Regions from separate parts of the Homo sapiens genome. Here regions 1, 2 and 3 are each linked to region 4. Evidence: promoter capture Hi-C in 16 types of primary human blood cells and fetal thymus (Javierre and others, 2016). All regions are on one chromosome and are shown on one strand. Each heading gives the region's core, a stretch centred on a gene start or on the middle of the fragment in contact. The rest is flanking DNA. Distances are from core to core; before and after follow the strand shown. Region 1 overlaps CLSTN3 (calsyntenin 3). Region 2 holds the start of CD4 (CD4 molecule). Region 3 holds the start of GNB3 (G protein subunit beta 3). Region 4 holds the start of PHB2 (prohibitin 2).

What was found. Contacts are between HindIII fragments. The CHiCAGO score rates a contact against its expected background, and 5 or more counts as called.
Region 1: a fragment that was not itself captured here is called in contact with the fragment with the promoter of PHB2 in region 4 in 3 of 17 cell types (erythroblasts, M2 macrophages and total CD8 T cells); the score reaches 7.7 in erythroblasts.
Region 2: the fragment with the promoter of CD4 here is called in contact with the fragment with the promoter of PHB2 in region 4 in 3 of 17 cell types (non-activated CD4 T cells, activated CD4 T cells and total CD4 T cells); the score reaches 6.2 in non-activated CD4 T cells.
Region 3: the fragment with the promoter of GNB3 here is called in contact with the fragment with the promoter of PHB2 in region 4 in 2 of 17 cell types (non-activated CD4 T cells and activated CD4 T cells); the score reaches 5.2 in non-activated CD4 T cells.

Annotation. Positions count from the first base shown.
Region 1 is chr12:7,149,297-7,152,596 of GRCh38, reverse strand. CLSTN3 (calsyntenin 3) reads right to left here. Exons shown (of 18, transcript NM_014718.4): 14 at 2,904-3,074; 15 at 1,908-2,053; 16 at 1,534-1,669. Among named protein-coding and RNA genes, the nearest start is that of CLSTN3, 21 kb to the right of the region's middle. The HindIII fragment of the contact is 5,620 bases long and covers 1-3,300 here.
Region 2 is chr12:6,787,670-6,790,937 of GRCh38, reverse strand. CD4 (CD4 molecule) reads right to left here and starts at 1,410. Exons shown (of 10, transcript NM_000616.5): 1 at 1,276-1,410. RefSeq lists enhancers at 1,504-1,553, 1,369-1,926. The HindIII fragment of the contact is 6,468 bases long and covers 1-3,268 here.
Region 3 is chr12:6,839,268-6,842,654 of GRCh38, reverse strand. GNB3 (G protein subunit beta 3) reads right to left here and starts at 1,730. Exons shown (of 10, transcript NM_002075.4): 1 at 1,622-1,730; 2 at 1,311-1,397; 3 at 1,031-1,069. The coding sequence starts at 1,367. P3H3 (prolyl 3-hydroxylase 3) reads right to left here. Exons shown (of 15, transcript NM_014262.5): 15 at 2,808-3,358. The coding sequence ends at 3,194. The HindIII fragment of the contact is 12,557 bases long and covers 1-3,387 here.
Region 4 is chr12:6,969,029-6,972,087 of GRCh38, reverse strand. It overlaps PHB2 (prohibitin 2), which reads left to right and starts at 1,424. Exons shown (of 10, transcript NM_001144831.2): 1 at 1,424-1,671; 2 at 1,808-1,892; 3 at 2,511-2,590. The coding sequence starts at 1,545. It overlaps EMG1 (EMG1 N1-specific pseudouridine methyltransferase), which reads right to left and starts at 1,175. Exons shown (of 6, transcript NM_006331.8): 1 at 997-1,175. The coding sequence starts at 1,164. RefSeq lists enhancers at 868-987, 1,038-1,217, 1,308-1,377, 898-1,500. The HindIII fragment of the contact is 5,065 bases long and covers 1-2,853 here.

The sequences.
Region 1 (3,300 bases), core at 146-2,645, 180 kb before region 4:
AGACCACAAATTTCTTCCCAGAAAGCACTAGTGGACTCCTTTGAGAATTGCCTTCAATTCTCAAAAGCCTGTGACACAACCTTTTGACTCTTTTCAAAGGTGACCGATCTATGGCCTTTGAGAGTGGGTTTAATGTTTAAAAACTTAAAATTATATCCAGATTCAACTTTGGCAAAACTGGGTGATGAAGTTGAGTAACACTGAACAGGGTCAAAAGCAAGTTATGTCCAAAAAATAACAAAAATAAATGCACCTCATAAATTGGCTCTGAAAGCAATTCTAAGAAGGGGTTCCAAAAATCACTTTCAACAACATCAGCATCATTTGCAATTTTTAATAATGTGGGAAAATACTTGTTTTATAATATGAAGTGTAAATATCAGGTTACAAAATAGGCTAATCCTAACTTTCTAAAAAGGAAAAATTAAGCATAGAAAAAAGACTGGAACAGAATACTCATATTATCAGTGGTTTCCTCTCTGACGGAATTATGGCTGAGTTTTCCTCGTCTTCTTCTTTCTTTTTTTTTTTTTTTTTTCCTTTGAGACAGAGCCTTGCTCTGTCTCCCAGACTGGAGTGCAGTGGTGTGATCATGGCTCACTGCAGCCTTGGCCTCACAGGCCCAAGAGATCCTCCTACCTCAGCCTCCCAAGTAGCTGGGACTACAGGCACCTGCCACCATGCCCAGCTAATTTTTTTTATTTTTTGTAAAGACAGAGTCTCACTGTGTTGCCCAGGCTGGTCTCAAACTCCTGGACTCAAGTGAGCCTCCTGACTCAGCCTAGTGTGTTGGGATTACAGGCATGAGCCACTGTGCCTGGCCTGATTTTTCTTCTTTAAAAGAAATATTTGATATTTTCTGGTTTTTCTACAATTACGCAACTCAAAAGTTGAAAATAAAATTGCACCATTCGTAAAGGACCATGACCGGGAACCTTTGGGACCACGGCCAGGTTGCTTTGAAGGGCAGCTTTGAAGGGCAGCACTCCATCTGAATGTAACGCTTTGCATATTTGCATATATTTTTTAGAAATATTCTTGTGACTGCATACGTAGCACATAATTTTACATGTAATAGTACCAATTCTCTCCTTGGGGATAGGGACTGATCTATCCTATAAATCATTTAGATCATCTTAGGACAGTGCTAGTACATAGTAGGTGCTTAGTAAATACTTGATAGTTTCACCACAGAGGATCCTAGGTCCAGGGCTAATTTGATATTGCTTGGGGCTGGGGAAGGAGGCATCATCAGGTATAACAAACACGCCTAAACCCACACTGACTTTATGACTGCAGGCATAAGCATCCCTACAATGACACAAGGCTCATGTTCTTCACAAGGGAAAGTGAATGATCCAAAGGGAGAGAGGGATTGGTCCATAGCTGTCAACTAAGGCAGGTACCACAGGGAACAGAACCCATTGCTCCACCTACCTTGTCCTCTCCCAGAGGTGGAGGGGGAGGATACCTGTCCCAACACACTCACCTGCCACCTGCCCCTCCCTGCCCAGCCCCACCAGGCTTACGTACTGGAGTTTCTGTGGGAGCTGGCTAGGCTGTGTCCAGCCATCTCAGGCGGGGGCTGGTGACCACGGTGCAGGAACTGCTGGGAGCTGAGCACGTGGCTGGGGTGGGCAACCCGGTTCATGCTGTGCAGGACATTGACCTGGGCAGAGGGAGGGCTCCATGGGCACACACGCTTCTCCCAGGTCCTCCCCACTTCTCTAGACCCCAGCCCCATCTCCTAACTACTGCCCCCATCTCCTTCTCCTCCACCCACTGCAAGGTCCAGCAGCCCTCCACGCTGCCATGTCCATGCCCACCAACTAACATTTTGAGTCCATGCCACCTCAGCTCCTTTCTGGGGGTGGGTAACTGTGGAAGGAAGGAGACTCTCTGGGTACCTCCACGATGAATTCATTGCTGGAGTAACGGCCATTCATTTCCGAGCAGGAAAGCCGGAACTTCCTGGTGTAGAGGGCAGCTCCGTGTCGCAGCCGATAACGAGCCTGCCTCAGGATCTCTTCATACACAGTGATGCTCTCCACCCCTGGAGATGAGGAAGCACCTCAGGGCAGGGGCCAGTGGAGGCAGGACCTGGGCAGGACCCTCTCTCCTGGACTCCCACCAGCTGACGCCACACAAGCTGTAGAGCAGGTCAGCCCCATCTCCGCAGAAGTGCGACCTGAGGTCGAAGGGAGGGATGCTCCCCTCCATCCCTGCCCACTCTGACTAACTAGGATGGAGAGATCAAGGCTCCATTTCCTGCTCTGTAGGTTCTGAGGAGGAATGGAAAGAAGGAGATAAAGACATCCTGAAAGACAGAAAGGGAGATGGCAAGCAGGAGGGAATATGAGAAAGAGGAAAATACAGAAGTCCTCAGTGAGCCCTGGAAAGGAGTGGAAATAGAAGGGAACTGATTATCTCCATCTTCTCCATTCTCCCTCCTGGCTTCCTTTGGAAACTACCAAATCATCACTCCCACTATTCACTAAGAGATGAGTACTTCTTGTAAAGCTCTGGTGTGCACGTGAGATGAGTGAGCTGAACAACAGAGATGACCGGTAACAAACAGACAGCTAGAGGGTTAGAAAGCTGGGCAGAGATGAGCCGAAGGAGGAGAGGAAGGTGAGAAGCCTGAATGGAAACAGGAGTGGGACCAGAAGTGGAGGTGAGCCAGGCTATGGAGAGGAGCAGGAAGACAGAAGCATTCGGAGCCTAAACCCAGCACACCTTCCCTAGGGACAATCAAAGCCAGAGGATCTTCCAGGCTAGGAAAATGCAAAACGGCACTTGTCCACATCCCTGGACCTGGAAGGAGGACCCTCTGGGCTTCCTAGGCCCTTACTTTTTGGGAGGGGCACACACACACAGAGGACAGGCCCTCAGGCCCCACTGACCAGCAATAGTGAGGTAGGCAGATGTGTTGGTGAGCTCCAGCCCCCGCTGCTGCAGAGAGGTTGTGTCCAGGAGCAGGCTTTCCCGCTCGGGATCCAGGTCATCCCCCACCAGAGAAATTTCACAGCCATCCAGGTTGTGCACAATCTCATCCGACATGCGTGTGTCTGTCACTGGGTTGGGGATAGTAGGGTCTGGGTCAGAGCCAAAGGGCCCACGGAGGTTCTGAGACCCAACCATGCCCTCATCACCACTCTCCCTCCCTTTCCAGGGCCAGGGAGAGGGAAGTCAGCATCATTTTCAAGAATATCATTATGCAACAATTCATTTCCACCCACGTGTTTTCCACTTGCTCTCCTTCTTAAAGGTAAGTTGTTCAGTCAAACAAACACAGGATGG
Region 2 (3,268 bases), core at 161-2,660, 180 kb after region 4:
GTGACTTCCCCCATCAGGCCCTGCTCTTAGCCTTGCCCCGATAAAAATGTCCACCACAAGAGCAGGGCATTCAGGAAGCACTATCCCACTCAGAGTGAAATCTTTGAATTATTGAGAACAGGGCCTTTCCGTTTTGAGGGATCAGAACGTACCCCAGGAAACCTCTCTCCCAGAAGAAGCCTATGAGGGGAAAGCAGAGGACACTGGGGATAGCACGGCTTCAAGGCCATGAGGTCTCAGGGGCTGGAAAGGTCTGAGGGCGGAAAGGCTGAGATGGCACAGGGCTTCCCTTCAGGAGGGACAGTGAGTCCTCACTCTCCCTCACACCCTGCCAGGCCCAGGAGGGGCTGCACATCCTTCTGTAACTCTCCCGGCCTCATGAGACCCCTACCACCAATTCTTTTCGAATCCGTTTCTTAAATGACATATTTATCTAAAGATATGTATCTGCAACTTTTAGGGCAATTCATACGCAAAAGCTCAGTTTCAACACTTTCTGAGAATTTTAGCTTTCCTATTTCATGAATCATTTTAAAGCTAACTAGAGTAGAAGTGCCTTTAGACATTGTTCAAAAATCTTAAAAGAGCAAAGAAGCAGACAAAAATTTAAAAATACACACAGAAACACAAAAGGTAGTTAAAAGAGACTATTACATAGATCATGCGACTTATGAAATGCTGCAAGTATGATATTTGGTGTCAATTTTTGGAGATTGTCCCGTTAAGGAAAATTGGTTTTGCAAGAATTTTCTCTAGACTAGATTCCACTTCTTTTGCTCTTTTTCTTGTTTTTATGTTTTTCCTCATCATTTCTTTTTTATAGGTTTCCTCCCACCTTATATTTATTTATTCTTTCTAATTTTTTCCCTCCCCTTCTTCACTCTTTTTCTCCTCTTTTCCCCTCTTCCAGTCTTCTCCCCTCAACTGCCCACGACTAGTTGCCTTCCACGCCTTTCCCAGCCTGGGATAGTCTCCAGTCTTCACTCCCTCTCTGATCTTGCTATTTAGGTCACTACTCCTCTAAGGAGCACCCATTGCTCTGGACACTGAGCTGTGCACGCTGGGGCTGCAGAGAGGAGTCTAGCACAGTCTCTGACCTCTGGAAGCTCACAGTTCCAGTGGGAAATCGCTGCTCATGACCAGTTCCAAGAGAAATGCAAGAGAAGGTGGCCAGAGCTGTGGGCAGACAACTGGGCAGAGCACATTCCTGTGCATCTGCCCCACGTTCCCCTCCCTCTCAGCTCCGGGGAAGGAAGCCGAGTCTGACCACCTTACCTCTGGGCTTGCGTCTTTCTTGCCCGCTGCTTCTCAAACAGGCGTATCTGTGTGAGGACTTGGAGCTCTGCAACCAGGAGCCCAGTGGGGAGGGTGCTTTGTTCCTTCTGCAGAGTCGTGCTTAAATGAAGAGAGACAGGAAGCCCGATGGCAAGGCTCCTCCACACCCTAGGCCTGGGCCGGCCCCAAACGTCACCAGCTGGAGCTGGGTTCCCCACCCCCCAGGCTCTCAGGGAACATGTCAAAGTGAAAATGCCAAAGTCAAGGGAAAAAGTTAAGCAGAATCAGGCTTAAATCAGGAGTCAAACTGTCACTGCCACTGTTAAGCGGCAAGAAAAAGATGGCAAGAAAGATTCCATTAGTGGTAGCGCCATGTCTGACCAGGCTGTGGGGAAAGAAGTGGGAGGCAGTTGGGGGCATATGGGAACAGCAGTGGTAAGCCCACAAACAGCTCCTTGCTCTGGGGCCCTGAGGGCATGTGTCCAGTGGGTGCCCCAGGGGTATCTGTGGAGGCTTTATAGGTGGCCCAGTGTGGAAGAGAGGGCGTGGGCTGAGCAGAGAATATCTGAGACACCAGGAGTGACTGTTAACCAGGCTCTGTTCCTCTAGGCGTCTCTGGCCAGGCCTCAGGTGCTTTCCTCTAGCCCGAATCTACCATGAACTCTCTATGTGAGTATCCGTCTGCCCATTGGACATCTCCACTGGGAAGCTCACCGGACATAGCAAACTCAACACACATCCCCAACTATGCATACCACCTGCATACTACCACCCTCCAAACCTGCTTCTCCAGGCTTCTCACTCAGTGAGGGGCTCACCATCCACCAACTTGCCCAAGCAAAATAAATTGGGTGTAATCTTTGACACCCCCTTCACCCAACTTCTCCCACGTATTTATTTACCAGTTCCTGTGGATGTTACCTTCTAAATGGCTCCAAAATCTACCCAAGTCACTCTGCACTACCACTACTGCCACCATGCCAATCCAAGATGCCAATATCATCCCTTGCTCGGACAACAGCTCCTGCCTCCTCACTGGTCGCCATTCTCCATACCACAGCCCAAGTGATCATTTAAAGATGCACATGTGAGTGTGCGTTTTCCAGTCTGAAAAAAGTGGGGCTGGGAGTGGTGGCTCATGCCTATAATCCCAGCATTTTAGGAGGCCGAGGTGGGGGGATCGCTTGAGCCCAGGAAGTTGAGGCTGCAGTGAACCGTGATTGCACCACTGCACTCTAGCCTGAGTGACAGAGTGAGAACCTGTCTTGAAAAGAAGAAAAGAAAAGAAAAGAAAAGAAAACTCTAGTTCAGCTTGCGACTCCAACAATTAACACAAGTACCCCTATTTGACAGCATTGTACTTCATCTGTAGCATATAGTACTGTGTGCTACTTCTCATTTCATGACACACCGTACTCAAGGGTTGAGATTTAATAAAATTAGTATTTACTGCTTCATTAAAGGCATTCTATATATATATATATATATATTTTTTTTTTTTTTTTTTTTTGAGAGGGAGTCTCACTCTGTTGCCCAGGCTAGAGTGCAGTGGCGTGATCTTGGCTCACTGCAACCTCTGCCTCCCGGGTTCAAGCAATTCTCCTGCCTCAGCCTCCCAAGTAGCTGGGGCTACAGGCATGCGCCACAATGCCCAGCTAATTTTTGTATCTTTAGTAGAGATGGGGTTTCACCATGTTGCCCAGGATGGTCTTGATCTCTCTTTTTTTTTTTTTTTTTTTTGAGACAGAGTCTTGCTTTGTCATCCAGGCTGAAGTGCAGCAGCATGATTTCGGCTTACTACAACCTCCGCCTCCTGGATTCAAGCCATTCTCCTGCCTCAGCCTCCCGAGTAGCTGGGATTACAGGCACCCGCCAACATGCCTGGCTAATTTTTGTATTTTTGTAGAGACAGGGTTTCACTCGTTGGCCAGGCTGGTCTTGAACTCCTGACCTCAGGTGATCCTGATCTGCCCGCTTCGGCCTCCCAAAGTGC
Region 3 (3,387 bases), core at 481-2,980, 130 kb after region 4:
AACAGATTTGGGAAGAGATGCACAGAGCTGGCTCTCCCAAGCCGAGAGGAGCCTGCTTGCACCCACCGCTGCAGCACGGCTAGCTTTTTAACTGGGTGCCTGGGGCATCACCATGACCCTGAACTGTACCTCCTGAAATCTGTGGTACTATGCCCCTTGAGCTCTAACCACATTTTAGACTTAGGCTGGGGGTCCAGAGTGAACAGACTTGATTTGCCATCACTTGCATTGCTATCTTTTTTTAAAAAGTTAAAAGCAATTTTTTTTATATTAAGAAGAGATCTCACTATGTTGCCCAGGCTGGTCTCAAACTCCTGAGCTCAAGTGATCCTTTCACGTCAGTCTCCCAAAGGGCTGGGATTACAGGCGTGAACCACTGCGCCCGGCCTGCTTTGTTATCTTGGGCAAGTTGCTTCACCTCCCTGAGTCTGTTTACTCAAGGTGTAAAATGAGGCTTATCATAGCACCTACCTTACAGAGATATCATGAAAATTCAATGAAATCAGGTATTTATGCAGCTTAGCCCAGTATCTGGCTCATAAAAAGTGTTCACTATTAACATATTTAATCCAATCTAAGATGCATCACTAAGAAAGAAAAGATGCTGTCAATTCTAATTGAAACAATGATCCATTGCTGAATGCACCTTGATTTCAGAGATGTCAAAATGTGAAGAAATGTGCATCTTAGAATTGACAAAATACAGCATAGAAAACTAGCAGCTAGAGTCTACAAGGGCTTTATAATTTACAAAGTACTATCGCTTCTTCATCTTCAAGGCCCTGGGAGGGGGCTGTGGTCACTCTTGTTCTACGGATGAGAATAGGAACCGTGTCCGCATCTTTCGCATCCAATATGGTGCCTGGCTCAGAGCAGGTCCCGCTAAAATGTTGGTCGAATGAATTAATTAATGGGTTTCCTCACTCCAAGGACGTGCTGTACTAATGCTCGGAGCAACGCGCTATTGCGGGTCGGGGAGCTCCCTTCCCCTCCCCCCATGCCCTGCCTTCCGGGGGACAGGGGGTCTTACCTCTGCCAGAGTAACGTCAGCACAGGCTTTCCTGGCATCCTGCAGGGAAAGCAGACATCAGGGGAGCAAGGGCGAGGTGGGGGTGGCAGGTGCATGGGCCTTCAGGGCAGGTTGGTCTTGGGGCTCTGGGGCTTGGGGGTCTCAAATATGCGAACCAAGTTTAGAAAGTCCCTGGTCACTTCTAGTCACTCAAGAGCAAACCCAGCCCCCTCCCCCTGGGCCACGCTCCTCATGTCCCCAGCTGTTTTCTGGGGCCCCAGGGGTAGGGCTCTGGAGTTACTGCAATCTGCTTCTTGAGCTGCTCCGCTTCCTGACGCAGTTGCTCCATCTCCCCCATGGCTGACAGGTCGAGGGGTCACTCTGGCTCCTGCCAGGAACATGGGGTCGGTGTTGAGGAACCCCCCACCAGGCTGTGCTTCTGCCCTTCGTGCCCACACCAGACTCCAAGACACAGGGAAACGACTGGGTGGCTGCACCCTCTCCCCAGCTAGGCCCTCCAAGTTTGAGGTCCTTTGCGTCCAGCCCCAGCCTGCCTGAGCCCTGCCTGCGCCCCAGCCCAGGAGAGCAGAGCCCAGGCCAGCTCCCTCTTACTTGGGCTCTGGCTGGACCTCGGCCGGGTTTCCAGCTCCGGTTCCTGGGAGCCTCCTTACTCCCTCAGCTGCGACGCCCGCGCCCGCCCGTCACCTGCCCAGGCTCTGCTGCCAGAGGAGCTGGCCTGGCCTGGCCTGGCCCCGACCGGCGGGGGGTTGGGGGGGCCTGACAGGGAAGGGTAGAGCCAACCACAACGTCAGGCAAATGAAATCAGCTGGCAGGGGTGGGGGGAAGGGGTGGGGGGAGGGAGGGAGGTGTACGGATTCCAGAGAGACTTGGGCCCAGCCGGGAGGAGGGTTGGGGGCAGGAGTGTGGGGCCATAGAGAGGGGCAGCCCCCACCACAAGCCCTGAGAGAGGAGGGGGTGAAGGGGTGCTTCCCTGGTCAGTCTCTGCAGGCAGAGATAAGAGCATCAGGCCCCACAGGATTAGAGCAAAGCTGTGAGGATTAAGGGTTGGGGTTTGGGAGGGGTGCAAAGGAGCAGACAACTACAGCTCCAGTGGCCCCCCTGGTCCCGGCCCCCATCCATGGTGATGATCTTGGCAGTCAGGGCCACTTAGCAACCAGGCCAGGAGGTGGGATATAAGGGTGATAGATGGCCCCATTGTCAGTACCTCAAACTGTGCTCCTCAGCTCAGGGTGGTGGGGAAGAGGGTTTGGTGAGTATGGGAGGGTACAGGCAGGAGCTGAGATTAGAAAGGACTGATCTGGATAATCCTTCTTCTCGACAAACCCCAACCAGCTGCCTCTGGGTCTGATCCTGTTGGGGGAGAAAGGTACAGGGGACCCACAGAGAAGGATGGACAGGTCTGCCCCTATTGTGGGCGGGCAACGGATTTCAAGTGGAGGGAAGGCCCGCACGCTGCTCCCAGGCTGGGGTCTGGCCCCCTCCTTGCCCTCTCGAGGCTGTGAAAGCAGGGGTCAGAGAGAAAGCAGGCGGCCCTAAGTCTCAGCAAAGCTCAGAGAGGGAAGACAGGGCTTACACTTGGAGGCCTAAGGAGCAGCTGCCAGGGGCTTGGGTCATTTGCATGAGGGGAGCAGGTGGCTGAGATTTCCCTGACAAATCACAGGCTCCAGGCGCCCCGCCTCTGGGAGGCCCAAAGACACCTGTCTCCTCCCAGGCCAGCCAGAGCCACCCCCACCTCCAGCCATCACAGAATCTGTGATACACTTGACTGGCCCCTGGCTGAGAGATCTTCACGACCTTTATTGCACAGACTGGGAGAGAGGAGCAGGGTTATACCTCCCAACCCCACCATCCTCTTCATTTAAAGCATCAGCCTCCTCCCCTGCCATTTCTGTTCAGGGAGGCACAGTGTTCCCCATCTGTCCAGGGCTGCAGGTCCGGCAGCGGGGCCCCGTCCCAGCTCCCCAGGCCTGGTGAGCTCCAGGCTAGCCTGTGCACTGTCCTCTGAGTCCAGGCCCTTGTAGGTCCCCAAGATGGTGGGGGTGCAGGGACAGAGAGCTTGCTGTTCTGCTCCTGATGTCACACAGGGGCTTCCTGTGTGTCCTGGCATCAAGATGGCCTTCCACAAGTCAAGTGGCCACATCCTCAAGGAGCTGGCTCAGCCACTCACAGCTCCTCCCGAACCCGAGGTGCCCTTCCAGTCTTGTCTTGGACCCTCTGGTGCCTGCGGCTAGGGGGCTCTGGGGAAGGGTCTTTGCTGGGCATTTCTTCCTCTTCCTCTTCCTCCTCCTCCTGTGACTCCTGCAGCAGTTCTTTGGCTTCTATCCACTCCTGGGGTTGGGGAGGAGAGTGTGGCCCAT
Region 4 (3,059 bases), core at 175-2,674:
CAAAAAAAAAAAAAAAAAAAAGTGTATTTAGAACGAAGATTAAAATCCTGGCCTGACTTCTAAACCAATGCGATTTCTTCTGGGCCTATTCAATTAGTTCTAACGGGTAAGAGAAAGGAGGAGGAAGAACACTGCCCAAGGCTTTAAGATAGAGAACTGCTGGTTCTATTACATGTGGGGAAAGAGATGAATGATAGATAAAAATGCAGATGTAAAAGTTTTAAATAATAACCAGGTCTGGACAGTGTATCATAGGTGGATATTAGAGAGAGGTGACTATGGATACTAATGAATTGAAACACGAAGCCCTTACAAAAAGTGTGGGCAGACTAGGCTACATAACTACGTTTCTCATCTGCCCAGTAACTTGTCTTGGGATGTGGAATGACGCAAGGAACGAAACTTTCCTCTGCTTAGACTACTATACCACAGAATCCTGGTAAACCAATTGGAAGCAAGGAGGTGAGGGCTAGAATATCATTCAAAAAGAGCAAAAGAAAATGAGTACTACCGGCCGGGCACAGTGGCTCACGCCTCTAATCCCAACACTTTGGGAGGCCGAGGCGGGCGGATCACTTGAGGTCAGGAGTTCGAGACCAGCGTGGCCAACATGGTGAAACCCCATCTGAACTAAAAATACAAAAAAATTAGCCGGGCGTGGTGGCACCTGCCTGTAGTCCCAGCTACTCCAGAGGCTGAGTCAGGAGAACTGTTTGAAGGCGGGAGGCAGAAGTTGCAGTGAGCCGAGGTCGCGCAACTGCACTCCAGCCTGGGCGACAGAGCGAGACTCCGTCTCAAAAAAAAAAAAAAAAAGAAAGAAAAATGAGTACTACCATCCCAGGATGTCAAATCAACGCAAAGCCAACCAAGCCACCTTCCTTCAAAAGCATCTTTCACCCCTCTCTGCTTTCTACATCCACTCTGGGCCCCTTACCCTCATTCCACGGAGTCCCAACCTATCGATTTACTACTTCTCCACTTCCTGTCCCAAACTACCTTGACTGTCTCCAGACTGGCCCCTTCCAGCACCACAATAAGCCTACGGCCTCCGATCTTGTTTCCTGCCCCTAGTCGGGGCCGCTTGGGTGGCAGAGCATCCCAGTCCTGTGCCTGCTCCCCACCGCTTCGTTCACGAGGCTTGAATCCATCACTGGGCGCGGCCATCTTGCAACAATACCGGAAGTTGCGCTAACGCTCTTAAATAAGAACAGCGCGGCTTCTAATCACAAATTTCCTTCCGGCTGCCATTTTGAAAGTGGGCCAGGAAATGGAGATGACTTGCTGTCTTGCGCTGCCCTCCCTGGGAGGGCAGCCTTCCAGAAAGGGGCGGGACTTCCGTATGCGCGATTCCTGTGCGCGAAGTTCGGGTCCGTAGTGGGCTAAGGGGGAGGGTTTCAAAGGGAGCGCACTTCCGCTGCCCTTTCTTTCGCCAGCCTTACGGGCCCGAACCCTCGTGTGAAGGGTGCAGTACCTAAGCCGGAGCGGGGTAGAGGCGGGCCGGCACCCCCTTCTGACCTCCAGTGCCGCCGGCCTCAAGATCAGACATGGCCCAGAACTTGAAGGACTTGGCGGGACGGCTGCCCGCCGGGCCCCGGGGCATGGGCACGGCCCTGAAGCTGTTGCTGGGGGCCGGCGCCGTGGCCTACGGTGTGCGCGAATCTGTGTTCACCGGTGAGCAACCTCCGCCTGCTCGCCGGACGCTTCCAGTCCCTCCCCCAAACCCCTTGCCCTGTCCCCGCGCCCCTCCACGGGCCTAGCATTTCCTCTGAGCAGCGGCCTGGCCTGATCACCACCCATCTCCCCACAGTGGAAGGCGGGCACAGAGCCATCTTCTTCAATCGGATCGGTGGAGTGCAGCAGGACACTATCCTGGCCGAGGGCCTTCACTTCAGGTAATGGCGGGCAGAGCCTGCTGACCCTGACCTTTCACCCTTGACGCCGACCCAGCAGTGGCTATAGTCGGACGTGCAACAGGATTCAACGCTGCTCTTTTCCCACCCTCCTCATCCCTGCCCCTAGGATAGTGGGTGCTGCGAGAACCTCCAGCAGCATACAAACTGTTGTTTTCCAGAGGGACAAGAGAATCTCTCCTTGTCTGTGGTCGTGGAGAGGAGCAGGCCAAAAAACGCGTGGTGAGGGGAAACCGGGCAAGGCTAGTGAAACTGCGGCCTTTTCTTTTTTTTTTTTTGGAGAGGGAGTCTTGCTCTGTCGCCCAGGCTGGAGTGCAGTGGCGCGATCTCGGCTCACTGCAACCTCCGCCTCCTGATTTCAAGCGATTCTCCTGCCTCAGCCTCACGAGTAGCTGGGATTACAGGCGCCCGCCACCACGCCCGGCTAATTTTTGTATTTTAGTAGAGACGGGGTTTCACTATGTAGATCAAGCTGGTCTCGAACTCCTGACCTCAAATGATCCGCCCGCCTCGGCCTCCCAAAGTGCTGGGATTACAGGCGTGAGCCACCGCGCCCGGCCGAAACTGTGGCCTCTTAATACCTATCCCTGTCCTCTCCAGGATCCCTTGGTTCCAGTACCCCATTATCTATGACATTCGGGCCAGACCTCGAAAAATCTCCTCCCCTACAGGCTCCAAAGGTAGGTCTGAGCACTTGGTAATCACATGGCAGGTGGGATGATCAAGGTAGCTGGCAAGAAACCCCAGGGGAATATGGTAGTGTCAGGCCTTTAGGCCTCTTTCCACATCTGCAAGAGCTGTAACAAAAATACCTGCCTCCTGGGGTCAAAGCAGCAAATTCTGAACACACTGTGTTTGCGTGCTTTTTACTGTCTCCTCCCTGACGTGTATTCAATAAGAGTATTGTTTGTCCCTCGTCTTGTTCACTGCCTAGATCAAAGCTTTGTTTTAAAGCCTTTTTTTTCTAACTGCTTGACTTACTATATCTACAGTTACATCCACTAGTACACTCTGTTCTGGAGAAGTTTGTCCCTAAGCTTGACTAGTTCACCTGTTCTCTCCTTCTAGACCATACATAAAAGCCGTGCCTTTGAGTTCCCCAGACCTCTTCCTCCTCCCCACCCACGCACACATATACACCCTGGGTCA